2 separate regions of the Homo sapiens genome follow, and region 2 is linked to region 1. Evidence: promoter capture Hi-C in 16 types of primary human blood cells and fetal thymus (Javierre and others, 2016). All regions are on one chromosome and are shown on one strand. The core of a region is centred on a gene start or on the middle of the fragment in contact, and the rest is flanking DNA. Distances in the headings are between cores, read along the strand shown. Region 1 holds the start of CCN2 (cellular communication network factor 2). Region 2 overlaps CCN2-AS1 (CCN2 antisense RNA 1).

What was found. Contacts are between HindIII fragments. The CHiCAGO score rates a contact against its expected background, and 5 or more counts as called.
Region 2: a fragment that was not itself captured here is called in contact with the fragment with the promoter of CCN2 in region 1 in 1 of 17 cell types (endothelial precursors); the score reaches 5.0 in endothelial precursors.

What each region holds. Positions count from the first base shown.
Region 1 is chr6:131,947,299-131,954,922 of GRCh38, reverse strand. CCN2 (cellular communication network factor 2) reads left to right here and starts at 3,551. Exons shown (of 5, transcript NM_001901.4): 1 at 3,551-3,816; 2 at 3,931-4,153; 3 at 4,380-4,631; 4 at 4,763-4,974; 5 at 5,363-6,747. The coding sequence starts at 3,751. The coding sequence ends at 5,659. The region is part of intron 2 of CCN2-AS1 (CCN2 antisense RNA 1); the gene reads right to left. The HindIII fragment of the contact is 12,519 bases long and covers 1-6,409 here.
Region 2 is chr6:132,078,709-132,086,332 of GRCh38, reverse strand. All of the region lies in intron 2 of CCN2-AS1 (CCN2 antisense RNA 1), which reads right to left. Among named protein-coding and RNA genes, the nearest start is that of MIR548AJ1, 33 kb to the left of the region's middle. RefSeq lists an enhancer at 831-1,010. The HindIII fragment of the contact is 3,866 bases long and covers 819-4,684 here.

The DNA.
Region 1 (7,624 bases), core at 2,302-4,801:
TGCGTATGGGTCTTGGCTCTGAGTCACATTCCTCCGGCATGTTTCCCTGGGAGCTTTGATTTCCGCTTTGAGGGCTGGCACTGACTCCTACTTGCTCTTATAAGAAAATGTCTACAACTAAAAGTTGAAAATGTGCAAGATTCCTTCTTTAAGTACACAAACACTCCAACTCTGGCCACTTTTCTGTAGTCCTGCCAGGTTTTCTCTGTGTCTGATACCTGATCAAGAAACCTTTTTTTTTTAGGGAGGAAAAAACAACAAAAAACTTAAGGGAAGGAATGTAATACATCCACAGCTGAACATCTTACAAGACTTAACCAAACGACCAGTACAAATGATGCCCTAGTAGACACACACACATACCTTATATAGCTTGGTAAACAGGACTCAGTGGCCAGCTTAGTTAATTCCTCATTTTACCACGAGGAAAAAATGCTCTCTAAAAAGCATTTGCTAGATAAATACTTGCTTACAAGTCAAAATTAGTGCATCTTAACCATTTTGCACACAAATTCAAAGATCTTTTTCTCCCAACTCTGACCTGCTGTCAATCAAAGGGGCTGGGGTAAGTCAAAGTTGGATGAAGTTATAAGAAGCCACTATTTCCCACTTTACCGCCCAGGCACACACAAACATTTGCTGAGTCATTGATAATAGTGCAAGAATTCAGATCCCATGGCATGAATTATGGATGGAGTATCAGCCTTTCCCTTTGAGTTTCCTGGCATTTGATGGTCCATATCACAATAAAAACATACTTCTGAGTCTGTGAATGTCTTGGGTGTCTTCTCTCATTCTCTCTCTCTCTGGGTGTGTGTGCATGTATGTGTCTGTCTGTCTCTGTGTCACTCTCTTAATAATAGTCTTTTAACTCCTTCAAAAAGAGTTTTGATCATAAAGCCTCAATCTAACCTGATAATGCACAGAAACTTTTTCTTTCCTGAGATTTCATATGTTCTATATATTTCAATATGCTTATTTCCTCTTAAGCAACATTAAAATCATCTATTTGGAACTGACTATAGATTTTTTTGAGACTTCGAGGGACTATGAGAATTTTATAGTAAAACCAAATTCTTTCTTTTGACATTTTTAACAACAGAGCAGAATGGTAATATACTTATTATACACAGAGATTGAAAAAAAATCAAGAAAATCTGAAAAAAATAAAGCACCAATTCCCTGGAATTTTCATCTACTCAGCCCTCACTGAACCCTATTAAATTAAAAAAATTATGATTACTTTCATTTTTTAAACAGAAATGGGAATATGGCTCCTACGTGTGACTTCCCTGAGATCTGCGAAAGGCAGTTCCAAGAATACAACCTAGGCCATCTAACTATAACCCAGTACAACAATTTATCCCCTCCATGAATGAGTCTCCCTGCTGCAGGCATGAAGATGGTGGTAGCTTTCAGACTCTCCTGAGGATTCAGAAATTCCCCAACCCTTCTCCCACCTACCTCACTCTGCAAGCTAGGAGAGCTCACCACCAAGCCCACATCCCACCTTAGGTGAGACTCGCACTGCACATCCCTACCCTTCCCCAGCCACCACACCTTTCCAACCATTAGAGGTAGATGTAATTGGGGGTTTAGGTCTTGAAAGGTTTCACTGTGGCTTCCCACATATTTTGGACTTTTAAAATCATCCACAAGGGAAGAAAAAGTTGAGGGCCAAGTTGCCTTTAATACACATGTGGCTATTAAGTTAACTTGGAATGTTCCTTCTTTAAATAGGAACTCTTAGGCCTCTTCTTTTTGAGGAATGCTTGGAAAGGACATTAAATAACAATGACGAAAATTCTTCCTGAGCTTCAGAGGGCACCCCCACCCCTTTGCTGGCCATTCACACTATTGACATGCAACTACACTCTATAACATGTGGCTGGCTTAACGAGGTAATCGTGCACAGATGATATGCTCTATGCTGAAGTTGGAGTGGTTATATTTCTTCTTGGCTATTTTTCAACAGACTGTACTGAAACTTTAAAAATTTGATCAGTTTAAACAGGCTGTTTTCAAATGATAAATCTATAATGCATTGTTTCTAAAGCCGATCTTTGCACCACAAACAGATATGCTTATCTTGAACCCATGCTCTGAAGCATCAACAACTTAAAGGAATCTACTCATTGGTAACACCAATGTCAAATGATGCGGCATTACAGAATACAAAAATGGTATGGCCCTAGAATCACTCTCTTTATATAAAATGGGAACTGGAGGTATTAACAAAAAAGCCACTAAACAACATAGATTCCAAATGAAAGCACAGTGAATTAGTTGGGTCTTTAGTGAAGCTAAGTAGCACTATATTAAGAAATGGAGATATGCTTAGGTTTATTGGCCATATTCAACATCTGCACACACCCAGGGAGAATAAAGCCTATTCTTTCCTTGTCCTGACCTCACTCCCTCAGGCTGCATGTTCCTTGGGTAATGAGAAGTCACAATCACTATTCATAGATGTGTGGGGAGTCACTAAAAATATATTATTCACTGTCAATCTTAGTTTATATCCAGATACAACAGGGTACACTGCTCTTGTAATGGAATCAGACTTCTTATTTTAACAAGACAAACCAAATCCAATCCACATTTGAAGATTATAGGTTTTAATATAAGAAAATGCACTCATTTCTCAAAGACCCTAGTGAAGCTGTGTTTAAATGCTCCTAGGTGAACCCCCTTTGCATCCCAGTGTTCCCACCCTGACACCCAGAGCCCCTACCTACCCAACACAGAATCATTTGCTCTGATAGAACAATGGATCCCTTTTTCTGGAAACATTGATGGCCACTCCTCCCTTGTCCTTGCCTATATAAAACTCCTACATATATTAAGAGAAAACTAAGCAAGAGTTTTGGAAATCTGCCCCAGGAGACTGCATCCTGAGTCACACGCGTCTTTGTTCTCTTTCTTGTCCCAAAACCGTTACCTCAAGTGACAAATGATCAAATCTCAAATATAGAATTCAGGGTTTTACAGGTAGGCATCTTGAGGATTTCAAATGGTTAAAAGCAACTCACTCCTTTTCTACTCTTTGGAGAGTTTCAAGAGCCTATAGCCTCTAAAACGCAAATCATTGCTAAGGGTTGGGGGGGAGAAACCTTTTCGAATTTTTTAGGAATTCCTGCTGTTTGCCTCTTCAGCTACCTACTTCCTAAAAAGGATGTATGTCAGTGGACAGAACAGGGCAAACTTATTCGAAAAAGAAATAAGAAATAATTGCCAGTGTGTTTATAAATGATATGAATCAGGAGTGGTGCGAAGAGGATAGGGAAAAAAAAATTCTATTTGGTGCTGGAAATACTGCGCTTTTTTTTTTCCTTTTTTTTTTTTTCTGTGAGCTGGAGTGTGCCAGCTTTTTCAGACGGAGGAATGCTGAGTGTCAAGGGGTCAGGATCAATCCGGTGTGAGTTGATGAGGCAGGAAGGTGGGGAGGAATGCGAGGAATGTCCCTGTTTGTGTAGGACTCCATTCAGCTCATTGGCGAGCCGCGGCCGCCCGGAGCGTATAAAAGCCTCGGGCCGCCCGCCCCAAACTCACACAACAACTCTTCCCCGCTGAGAGGAGACAGCCAGTGCGACTCCACCCTCCAGCTCGACGGCAGCCGCCCCGGCCGACAGCCCCGAGACGACAGCCCGGCGCGTCCCGGTCCCCACCTCCGACCACCGCCAGCGCTCCAGGCCCCGCCGCTCCCCGCTCGCCGCCACCGCGCCCTCCGCTCCGCCCGCAGTGCCAACCATGACCGCCGCCAGTATGGGCCCCGTCCGCGTCGCCTTCGTGGTCCTCCTCGCCCTCTGCAGCCGGGTAAGCGCCGGGAGCCCCCGCTGCGGCCGGCGGCTGCCAGGGAGGGACTCGGGGCCGGCCGGGGAGGGCGTGCGCGCCGACCGAGCGCCGCTGACCGCCCTGTCCTCCCTGCAGCCGGCCGTCGGCCAGAACTGCAGCGGGCCGTGCCGGTGCCCGGACGAGCCGGCGCCGCGCTGCCCGGCGGGCGTGAGCCTCGTGCTGGACGGCTGCGGCTGCTGCCGCGTCTGCGCCAAGCAGCTGGGCGAGCTGTGCACCGAGCGCGACCCATGCGACCCGCACAAGGGCCTATTCTGTCACTTCGGCTCCCCGGCCAACCGCAAGATCGGCGTGTGCACCGGTAAGACCCGCAGCCCCCACCGCTAGGTGTCCGGCCGCCTCCTCCCTCACGCCCACCCGCCCGCTGGAAAAAGAAACCGCTCGGACTGAGTTTCTTTCTCCAGCTGCTGCCAGCCCGCCCCCTGCAGCCCAGATCCCAACTCGCATCCCTGACGCTCTGGATGTGAGAGTGCCCCAATGCCTGACCTCTGCATCCCCCACCCCTCTCTTCCCTTCCTCTTCTCCAGCCAAAGATGGTGCTCCCTGCATCTTCGGTGGTACGGTGTACCGCAGCGGAGAGTCCTTCCAGAGCAGCTGCAAGTACCAGTGCACGTGCCTGGACGGGGCGGTGGGCTGCATGCCCCTGTGCAGCATGGACGTTCGTCTGCCCAGCCCTGACTGCCCCTTCCCGAGGAGGGTCAAGCTGCCCGGGAAATGCTGCGAGGAGTGGGTGTGTGACGAGCCCAAGGACCAAACCGTGGTTGGGCCTGCCCTCGCGGGTGAGTCGAGTCTTCCTCTAAGTCAGGGTCGTGATTCTCTCCCAGGGAGGGAGTCCTAACTGTGCCGACCGAACGGGGGAAATACCTTATCCAGGCGTTTTACATGGTGTTTGTGTGCTCTGCTCTCGCAGCTTACCGACTGGAAGACACGTTTGGCCCAGACCCAACTATGATTAGAGCCAACTGCCTGGTCCAGACCACAGAGTGGAGCGCCTGTTCCAAGACCTGTGGGATGGGCATCTCCACCCGGGTTACCAATGACAACGCCTCCTGCAGGCTAGAGAAGCAGAGCCGCCTGTGCATGGTCAGGCCTTGCGAAGCTGACCTGGAAGAGAACATTAAGGTACATGTTCTGCTCCTATTAACTATTTTTCACAGGAAAAACAGTGGATAGGACCCAACTTAGGGCTCTTGCCACGCTTGTTAGTATAAGCCCGTTATCTCCAAAACTATCTAACCATTGAGCTGTTTTGCTGGAATGAGAGCTTGTGTAATAGCAACCACCAGTTTTCCACTACGAAATCTTCCACAGGGTTAGTTAATTCAAGACATTCCAAGAGAGGCTCTGGCTATTTTTGGACATAGCAAATGAGACTCAAACTTCCTCCCCTCAAAATATAAACAGAAGTCAGACAACAGAAGACTAAAACACAGAGGGTTGAAGAAAGCCACTCCTCTTGTAGAGTCGCTGATTTTTTTTTTTCCTCTCTCTTTTCCCTTGTCTTCCTTAGAAGGGCAAAAAGTGCATCCGTACTCCCAAAATCTCCAAGCCTATCAAGTTTGAGCTTTCTGGCTGCACCAGCATGAAGACATACCGAGCTAAATTCTGTGGAGTATGTACCGACGGCCGATGCTGCACCCCCCACAGAACCACCACCCTGCCGGTGGAGTTCAAGTGCCCTGACGGCGAGGTCATGAAGAAGAACATGATGTTCATCAAGACCTGTGCCTGCCATTACAACTGTCCCGGAGACAATGACATCTTTGAATCGCTGTACTACAGGAAGATGTACGGAGACATGGCATGAAGCCAGAGAGTGAGAGACATTAACTCATTAGACTGGAACTTGAACTGATTCACATCTCATTTTTCCGTAAAAATGATTTCAGTAGCACAAGTTATTTAAATCTGTTTTTCTAACTGGGGGAAAAGATTCCCACCCAATTCAAAACATTGTGCCATGTCAAACAAATAGTCTATCAACCCCAGACACTGGTTTGAAGAATGTTAAGACTTGACAGTGGAACTACATTAGTACACAGCACCAGAATGTATATTAAGGTGTGGCTTTAGGAGCAGTGGGAGGGTACCAGCAGAAAGGTTAGTATCATCAGATAGCATCTTATACGAGTAATATGCCTGCTATTTGAAGTGTAATTGAGAAGGAAAATTTTAGCGTGCTCACTGACCTGCCTGTAGCCCCAGTGACAGCTAGGATGTGCATTCTCCAGCCATCAAGAGACTGAGTCAAGTTGTTCCTTAAGTCAGAACAGCAGACTCAGCTCTGACATTCTGATTCGAATGACACTGTTCAGGAATCGGAATCCTGTCGATTAGACTGGACAGCTTGTGGCAAGTGAATTTGCCTGTAACAAGCCAGATTTTTTAAAATTTATATTGTAAATATTGTGTGTGTGTGTGTGTGTGTATATATATATATATGTACAGTTATCTAAGTTAATTTAAAGTTGTTTGTGCCTTTTTATTTTTGTTTTTAATGCTTTGATATTTCAATGTTAGCCTCAATTTCTGAACACCATAGGTAGAATGTAAAGCTTGTCTGATCGTTCAAAGCATGAAATGGATACTTATATGGAAATTCTGCTCAGATAGAATGACAGTCCGTCAAAACAGATTGTTTGCAAAGGGGAGGCATCAGTGTCCTTGGCAGGCTGATTTCTAGGTAGGAAATGTGGTAGCCTCACTTTTAATGAACAAATGGCCTTTATTAAAAACTGAGTGACTCTATATAGCTGATCAGTTTTTTCACCTGGAAGCATTTGTTTCTACTTTGATATGACTGTTTTTCGGACAGTTTATTTGTTGAGAGTGTGACCAAAAGTTACATGTTTGCACCTTTCTAGTTGAAAATAAAGTGTATATTTTTTCTATAAAGGGCTTGGTTATTCATTTATCCTTCTAAACATTTCTGAGTTTTCTTGAGCATAAATAGGAAGTTCTTATTAATCATAAGATAATTCACCAATAATTTTCTAAATATCTTTAATTATTCTATACATTAATAAATTGATTATTCCATAGAATTTTTATGTAAACATACTTCACACTGAATCAAGTATCACAGACTTGCAGGCATACACACCACATTGACTATACAGCCATTTTTTTTGTTATCTTCACAGAACTTTATAGACACTTTAAATTCAATTCTCTCTAGATTACTTCAGTCTCCATTAACCCTGTTGTATTACACTTGGTCCTTTTGGCATTTGTACCTCTCTGGCCGTTATAGGTTAGTTTCCAACCCTTCACATCACAAACTAGTCTATGTGCCTTGCACGTGGAAAATGTTTACATTTTTTAAAAATTTTATGCTCTAGGTCTGTTTCTGAACTTCATTACCTTACTGTTAAATCTGAAAATTATGAAATGAAATCCTCATTTAAATGGAGCTATTTCATAAGTCTTGTTTTGTATAATTCCGTTTTTGGTTGCCATGATAACCAATGACAAACAGATGGCATAAATAGAAAAGGGAGGATGAGCAAATCTTCCATTCATTAACATTAATAGAAATTTGTTTTGAAAGTAATTCCTCCATTTGCCCAAGTCTTTAGCTTTATCAGACTTCCAGATTAATGCATCCTACCTTACCAAGTGGTTTATACATGAGAAAATGGAATTGTTCAAGAAGCCTCATGTGGAAACAATATTGTACCTACCCAGGTAGGTTTTTACTAAAGAGTGAACCAAAGTGAATGGTAAACAAAAGCAATACACCAAAGGCAACTAGAATCTTCTCCACATGAGG
Region 2 (7,624 bases), core at 1,502-4,001, 130 kb before region 1:
AATAAATACTTTTATAGAAAAAAGTGTATTTCTCATATACAATTTCAGCTAGAAAGGCATATTCCAGAGTTTAAAAAATTTGCTATTAAACAGCCAATTCTCATAGTATTAAAAGCCAGTGTAATTGAAAGAGGACATCTCAATGCTAGACAAATAAATAATACAAGGGAAAGACTGTCACCTCCCATCAATCATCTTTTTTTACTACCTAAACTTGTATCTTTGTCTATTTTACACGGCACCAGCACCACCCTCTCTTTAATTTGAATGGCTATTTTTATCCCTAAAAATGCCCGGTTACTTTATTCTTCCTGGGGCTGTCCCAAGCCTGGGTACTTGCACCACCAAGACACCGTGGCTTATCTGTGGCTGCTGCATAGCTACAGGGGCTGCAGAATTGGGAGGTCTAGGGACTGCCAAAGGATTGGACACATTGCAGCACCACCACGTGACATGCTTTCCATTTGTAATTCTGTTACTGATTTGCGTTTCCCAATGAAAGGCATCCTTGCACTCAGAGACAGGAAGCTATAAGAAGTGATTTCAATTCTGTTATAATTGGCCAGGTTATGGGGCAAGGTATTTTAGTTTCTGTCTTGTTCTCTTCCTTTGCTAAAGAGGAGCTTGGACTGAGGATTTTTTAGTTTCCTACCCTGGTCATGCATTCTATGATTTTGTGTAGTTTATCGTTAGTTATCCAGTAACTTACAATGTTGTCTTGTGTTTGGAGTTTCATGGTTGTCTTGTTGGTTTCTTTTTGTTTGGTTTTGGTACTTCTGTCCTCACAATCCTAAGGAACACAGTATTAGGCAGAAGCTTCCCTCATGTCTTTAAACAAGCAGGCCAGTCTGGGTGCGCTTACAAAAGGCACAGACCCTATTGCACAGCAATCATGTTTTCTAAGGTCAGAGTGAAAGCTAGAAGACAATTGGCTGGGAGATGTTGCCTGGGAAAATTCGCAGAGTCCTCTCACATACTTTTACATTATCCTCCAAAGTGCCTCAAGTTCTATTTATTCTTACAGCACTGAAATAACCCCAGCATACCTCTGAAACAGTGCAAGAAAGAGTCTCTTTTTGACTTCGCCATGTATGGTTTCAATCTGACAGTTTCCATTTTCATATCACATGCTGTTCCTGCATTGGGTTCTCACAGGCCTGACATATAGCCATGTCTCCCCCAAAAGGGTAAGGGATGCTTGCTGGGAAGAGGCACATAGAAATTCCATCCAATTACTTGAGGGTTTTATTCTTAACATAGCACTGAATAGTTTAATATCTCTTCTTTCCTGTTATAAATAGGTTCTGATGCCTATCACTGTAGCTCACTGAGAAAGAATGCAAACAGTCCCAGGAATGAAATACTCAGGAAGGCTGTTCTGCTTGGTAGGAGGTATTTTATTTTAAATGACAACATTTTCCTCTCAGACACAGAGAAAGCCTTACATTTTTGACCTGTGAGTTTCTCCTCTTTAGGAATGACATGATGTTTCATATGAGAAAAAGGCAAAAGAAACAAAGAAGGAGGAAGTGACATCAGTAATAATAACGTGCTAAAATAATATCTTTCTTTCCTCAGCTTTTTTTTTTTTCAAGTTGGAGTCTTGCTCTGTCACCCAGGCTAGAGTCCAGTGGCACGATCTCGGCTCACTGCAACCTCTGCCTCCCGGGTTCAAGCGATTCTCCTGCCTCAGCCTCCTGAGTAGCTGGTATTACAGGTTCCTGCCACCACACCCAGCTAATTTTTGTATTTTTAGTAGAGACAGGGTTTCACTATGTTGGCCAGGCTGGTCTCGAACTCCTGACCTCGTGATTTGCCCTTCTCAGCCACCCAAAGTGTTGGGATTATAGGCGTGAGCCACCGCACCCGGCCTCCTCAGCTGGTCTTCAAAGGAGCATTCGTTACTGTGACCAAATCTGTGTGTTCATGCTGCATTCTCCCGGAGCAAATATCATCCATGTGAAGGTCTGTTCAGAAGGACACCTAGAAAGGGCCAACAACATGAAGCAAGTGGAAGCACATTATAAAAGGCATGAATTTGAATCCATAGCATTGATAAAAAATCTCAGGAAGAGGGTTGCGCCGAGAGGCTCATGCCTGTAATCCTGAAACTTTGGGAGGCCAAGGTGGGTGGATCACCTGAGGTCAGGAGTTCAAGACCAGCCTAGCCAACATGGTGAAACCCTGTCTCTACTAAAAATACAAAAATTAGCCGGGCGTGCTGGCTCATGCCTGTAGTCTCAGCTACTCGGGTGTCTGAGGCAGGAGAATCGCTTGAACCTGGGAGGCAGAGGTTGCAGTGAGCTGAGATTGTGCCACTGCACTCCAGCCTAGGCAACAGAGTGAGAATCGGTCTCAAAAAAAAATCATCACAGGAACATAGTTTCAGAAGATAGACTTGTTCTTTTTCTCCTATACAAGGAAATGTAGATGTGAGAAATGATCTGTATGTATTATTACCTAAACAGATTTTTTTGTTGAATGGATACCAACCAATGCAGCATGTAAGAAACAAATACATGAAGACAGCTACAATTATAAAATTTCCTGGTTTAATTATCGTAAGTTATCAGATATTTGTAGAGGGGATAATGAGGTTTTGATTTCTGAGTGTAGAAATATTTCTCATTCCTGCTACAAGATAAGGAGAAGGCCCCTGATAAAATTTTATGTCTCTTGATTGTAGTAACAAAATATGATTCTAAAGAGTTTCTATGTCCTTTAAAGTCAGATAAAACTTACCTTTCCCCAAGATTGCCATATCTCAAACTCAGCTGCACATGACAGTAATCTCCAGTTTTTGCATGACTGCAATTCTTTTTTTGACCTGAGTCCCTAGTTCTGCCATTAGAAGGTTGTAAGCTGTGTGCATTTCTGAATGTATACCATTTTAGTAATTCTGGATCTTTTGAAGCATGTTAGAATAAAGAAAGTATTCAGAGCTGATGATATATAGAAATATCTAAACACACAAAAATGATGTTAAATGATGTTTGATTTTGAACAGTATGATAAAGAGTTTTGAATTATAGGCTGGCCCATATTTATAGTAAAAATCAGATTTCTAATGATACCCCCCAAATAGCTATGTCTGTAATCTGTAACAAATGACATTTTTCTTGAAATCATAAATAGGAAATTATTTGAACACTTATCCTAAGAGTTTTTCAGTTGGCTCTTGGTCTAAGAAACATAAACCTATCCAAAATCAGGGAAATATAAGTGCAGTAGTAGTATTGGAGTCTTGAAACATTCCAAAAAAGCAACATACTAAGTTTGTTTTGCTAGTTCAATCTGACTGTGTCAATCAAACCCTAATGACTTGCACACACAAAGGTTTTATTTCAGGCACTTGAAATTTTTACATAAAGTTAATAGAGTATCTAAACAAAGTTGTTTTTAAATTGAATCTTCTAAACTGCTTTTACTTTCCTCTTTCCTTTCAATGACAGCATCCATGTTATTAATAATTATCATCCTCACCCAGGTCTAGCAGATACACAAAGTGGCTATTAAAATGCTTATAAAGTTGACTCTGCTCCTATAACAAGCATATACACATGACTATTTTCCCCTAATCTCAATATACTCTTCAAATAATTTCTATTGAAGTGAGCTCATTTCTGTTTCATGGCATTTGGGATGTTTAGCATGACCCTCATCAATCCAGCCCTAAGAGGTCATTTTTCTCCTGGCCAATTAATTACTCAGTAAGGCTGTGCCATCTGCAACCAAAATATCCAAATAAAATAAACATTTTGAGAATTACATACAATGTGGTTAATCATTGTACTCATGATATTGACTCATGTACCTATAAAGTCTAAATCTAAAGAATAGAAATTCTTTATCAAAAGCCATCTTGACCCACGTGTCTTTAAAAAATACAATGGAAATTCGAAGAGCAGAATAATTAGAAAGCAGAAAATGTAAAGGCAGAGTTTCAAAGTGACCCAGATCCATACTGGAGGTCAGTCTACCTTTACAGTTTCCTCATACAAAAAATAGAAAGAGAAGGCAGCCAGGCGCGGTGGCTCATGCCTATAATCCTAGCACTTTGGGAGGCTGAGGTGGGTGGATTACGAGGTCAGGAGATCGAGACCATCCTGGCTAACACGGTGAAACCCCACCTCTACTAAAAATACAAAAAAAATTAGCTGAGCATGGTGACACCCGCCTGTAGTCCCAGCTACTTGGGAGGCTGAGGCAGGAGAATTGCTTGAACTTGGGCGACAGAATGAGACTCTGTCTCAAAAGAAAAAGAAAAATAGAAAGAGACACCTTTAGTCCATTTTCCCTTGTCAAAGTAGACAGAGATCATTTAAAATCTGGAACTCTTTAGGTTTTAAATCAAGAAACCAAATACCTACAACATGGTACCTTATGATAGATGAGAAGTACAGTAAGTCATGTTAGAAGGTGCGGTGTATAAAGCCATGTGGGGATCTGAATAATAGACTGACCTTTCTAATTAATATTAAAGCAGTTCGGCTGCTAAACAAATGGAAATAACTGAAAATAGTCATACTACCAAGTTACAAGCAAAAGCTATTAAAATATGCTTTTCCCCCACATATACAGACATTTCAAATGGATGTAACTGCACAGAGAGGTATGAGCCAGTAAAAAGCAGACAATAATTAGTAAGTTGTCTTATATAAAAATTAGAACAATCTTGAAAGCTTGCACTTTATACTTGGGAAGGATGAGCTTTGATCTTAATTTCAGTTAAAAGCCACTATTACAGGTACTATTTCCTTTTATTTGTTTAAACTTTTAAAAACCAATGTCAGCAATTTCACATTCTCTCTTATACCTGGAAAAGTGCTGGTTGAAACTTACAGGTTATCTTTCAGTCCTTTACTCATTTCACTTTTTATCTCTAAATGAAAAGTTGGGAAAATAGTCTCTCCACTAAGAGTATCTTCAGTATACTCCTTGTTTATCTATTTCATCGTGGCTATATAGTTTCCTGGGTTTCAGACATACCACAATGTAAAAGTTGTGAAAACCCTTTAACATACAGACTGTGCTTTTTGCATGCCGAGAAGGGAAACCATACAAAGAGTGTTTCCAAAAGAAGTGTTGATGTCTCGGGGAAGAATGTGGAGGAAGTTTCCAAACAGGAAGACAAAATGTCCTTTCAGACAACTTAGGATATCATTTGGTAAAGACATAGCATGAAGATATGAAAGGTCATAAGAAGTTTGACAAATATTTTTAATTTTTGGAGAAGACAAAATGAGAAAAAAATGAGTATAAACGGTATCAGTGAAGAGGTCTATAAAACATTAAAAAATAAACCTTTATTATTTTCTCATAAGCAATATTGCTGAGTATCCTTTTATGTGCTTAGCATTTTATTTGGTTTTGCAGGGGACTCAGAGGTTTTGACACAATCACTTCCCTCAAAGAGTTTACATGTGTACATAAAATTAATAAAACAGGGCAAGGAGAGATGAAATAAGGTTGTGACTGTGACACTAATAATATGTGTACTAGGACTCAGCAAAAGAACAAATAGGAAGTCAAGAGTTGTCAGGGAATTAGACATGGCGAAGGAAAGACTTGAGCTGGACCCTGAACGTAAGTAGAAGCTGATTGCAGAAGATTGAGAAAGGGTTGGGGAGGGGTTATACAAAGGGGAAGACTGGAATTTCCAAAGCCCATACAGAACCCAACATGGTGAATAAGAAGAGATTACTGAGGGTACTGGTGTGCATGGAGAAAGGCCACATGTTGGGAAATGAAAGGATATTATGTTGGAAGGGTAGAGTGAAGTTATATATAATCCAAACAGGACTAAAACCCTATGTGATAAGTGATGAAGGGCCACTGTGCTTTCTTTAATACAACTTAGGCCATGAGTAAGAAAAGCATTTTTTTGAAATTTTTACAGGACTCTTAAAATGTTTCAACAACTGGGACTTGTTCAGGAAAATGTTCTAAGTATTTATAACCTAAATCCTAAATTTTTGTAGATAAATGTGATTATTTTTACCTAGGCCTGTATCTTATTCTAGTAGCACAAATTTTGCTGCCTAATTCTGTAGGATACTTTATGGTATTCCATAAAACCTACTGGAGAATTATTCTATGCATACTTCTATAGAGGTTAAAGTTCATCTAAGGCCATACCACCCTGAACGCACCCAGTATCGTCTGATCTTGGAAGAATTTAGTTATATATAGATTCAACATAAATATACTTATTCAGTCTGTCATTCATTAATTAATTCATTCCACATTTACTTAGCACTCTGTCTCCCTCTCTTTCTGCCAAGTATTCTACTTAGTACAGAGGATGTAAAGAAAAAAAATTAGTTCTTGACTTCTATGAGTCTGGTGGGAGATTATAAACAGATAAAAAACTGAGTATAATCTAAGTAAAAGTTCACTGTAGCACCTATTTTTTTTCTTTTTTTTTTTGAGATGGAGTCTCTCTGTCGCCCAGGCTGGAGTACAGTGGCACTATCTCGGCTAACTGCAAACTCTGCCTTCCAGGTTCACGCCATTCTCCTGCCTCAGCCTCCCGAGTAGCTGGGACTACAGGCGCCCGCCACCATGCCCGGCTAATTTTTTTTTTTTTTTGTATTTTTAGTAGAGACAGGGTTTCACCGTAGTCTCGATCTCCTGACCTCGTGATCCGCCCACCTTGGCCTCCCAAAGAGCTGGGATTACAGGCGTGAGCCACCGCGCCCGGCCTGCAGCACCTATTTTAATAAGGAAGAGAGTTTTGTTTTCAGTAGCTTCTTATCAGAGATCAAATACAAAACACATAACATTCCAGGATGTCACAAGAGTCACATTTCTGTAAAAGCTTCTACTCAATGCTGCTTATCATAATGTCACAATGTCAGAATGCACAGATGGCTTGTTTGACCTGGAAGGCTCTGTACAGGTGGTGATGGTGGGCTGAGTGTCTAGAAGGAATGCAGGTGCCCTAGATACCTGGCCCAATCTTGGAAAACAATGATAACAATGGGGTTTGTACCTTTCTGCCCCCAGAAACTCTTGGAAAATACCTGCTGCAGCAACTGTGGGACCACTGTTAGCCTTAGTTCTACCAAAGGAGAGTACCTCTAAACAAGGAAAGAAATTATGCAGTGTCATTCCTTTAGGCCATCTATACCCTCACATAGTCTCATTAAATAGAGTAACTTGTGAAGAGATGGAGTATTTCAAGGGCCTCCCACCCTCAAATTATCTTGCCATGTGGTTACTGAATGGACTCAAATCATTCAATTAGAGATAAAATAAAAGCCTTGAATTATTCCAGTGAACTCAAATTTATTCCTTCAGAGATAAAACCAAAGGCTTGAATGAAGATGCTTGGTTGATATAATGCAGATGACTGAAATTCATCTGCATCAACCTAATGTGGAATCCATCTGCCACACTATAAAGGCTGGCATCGAATTCTCTTCTGGTTATACAAGAGGAGAAGGTTAGAAAGCAATTGGGAATAATGTAGCAAGAAAGGTCAAGAATGTGGAAGGTGAGGGCCATGAAAAGGAATACAAATTCCATCAACTTTATGGTTTGGTTTGGGATGAGTGTGTACCTCTGAGTATGTGTAAGTCAATGCTGTTTATAAGCTGATTGCAGTATGCTGCTGGAGTCC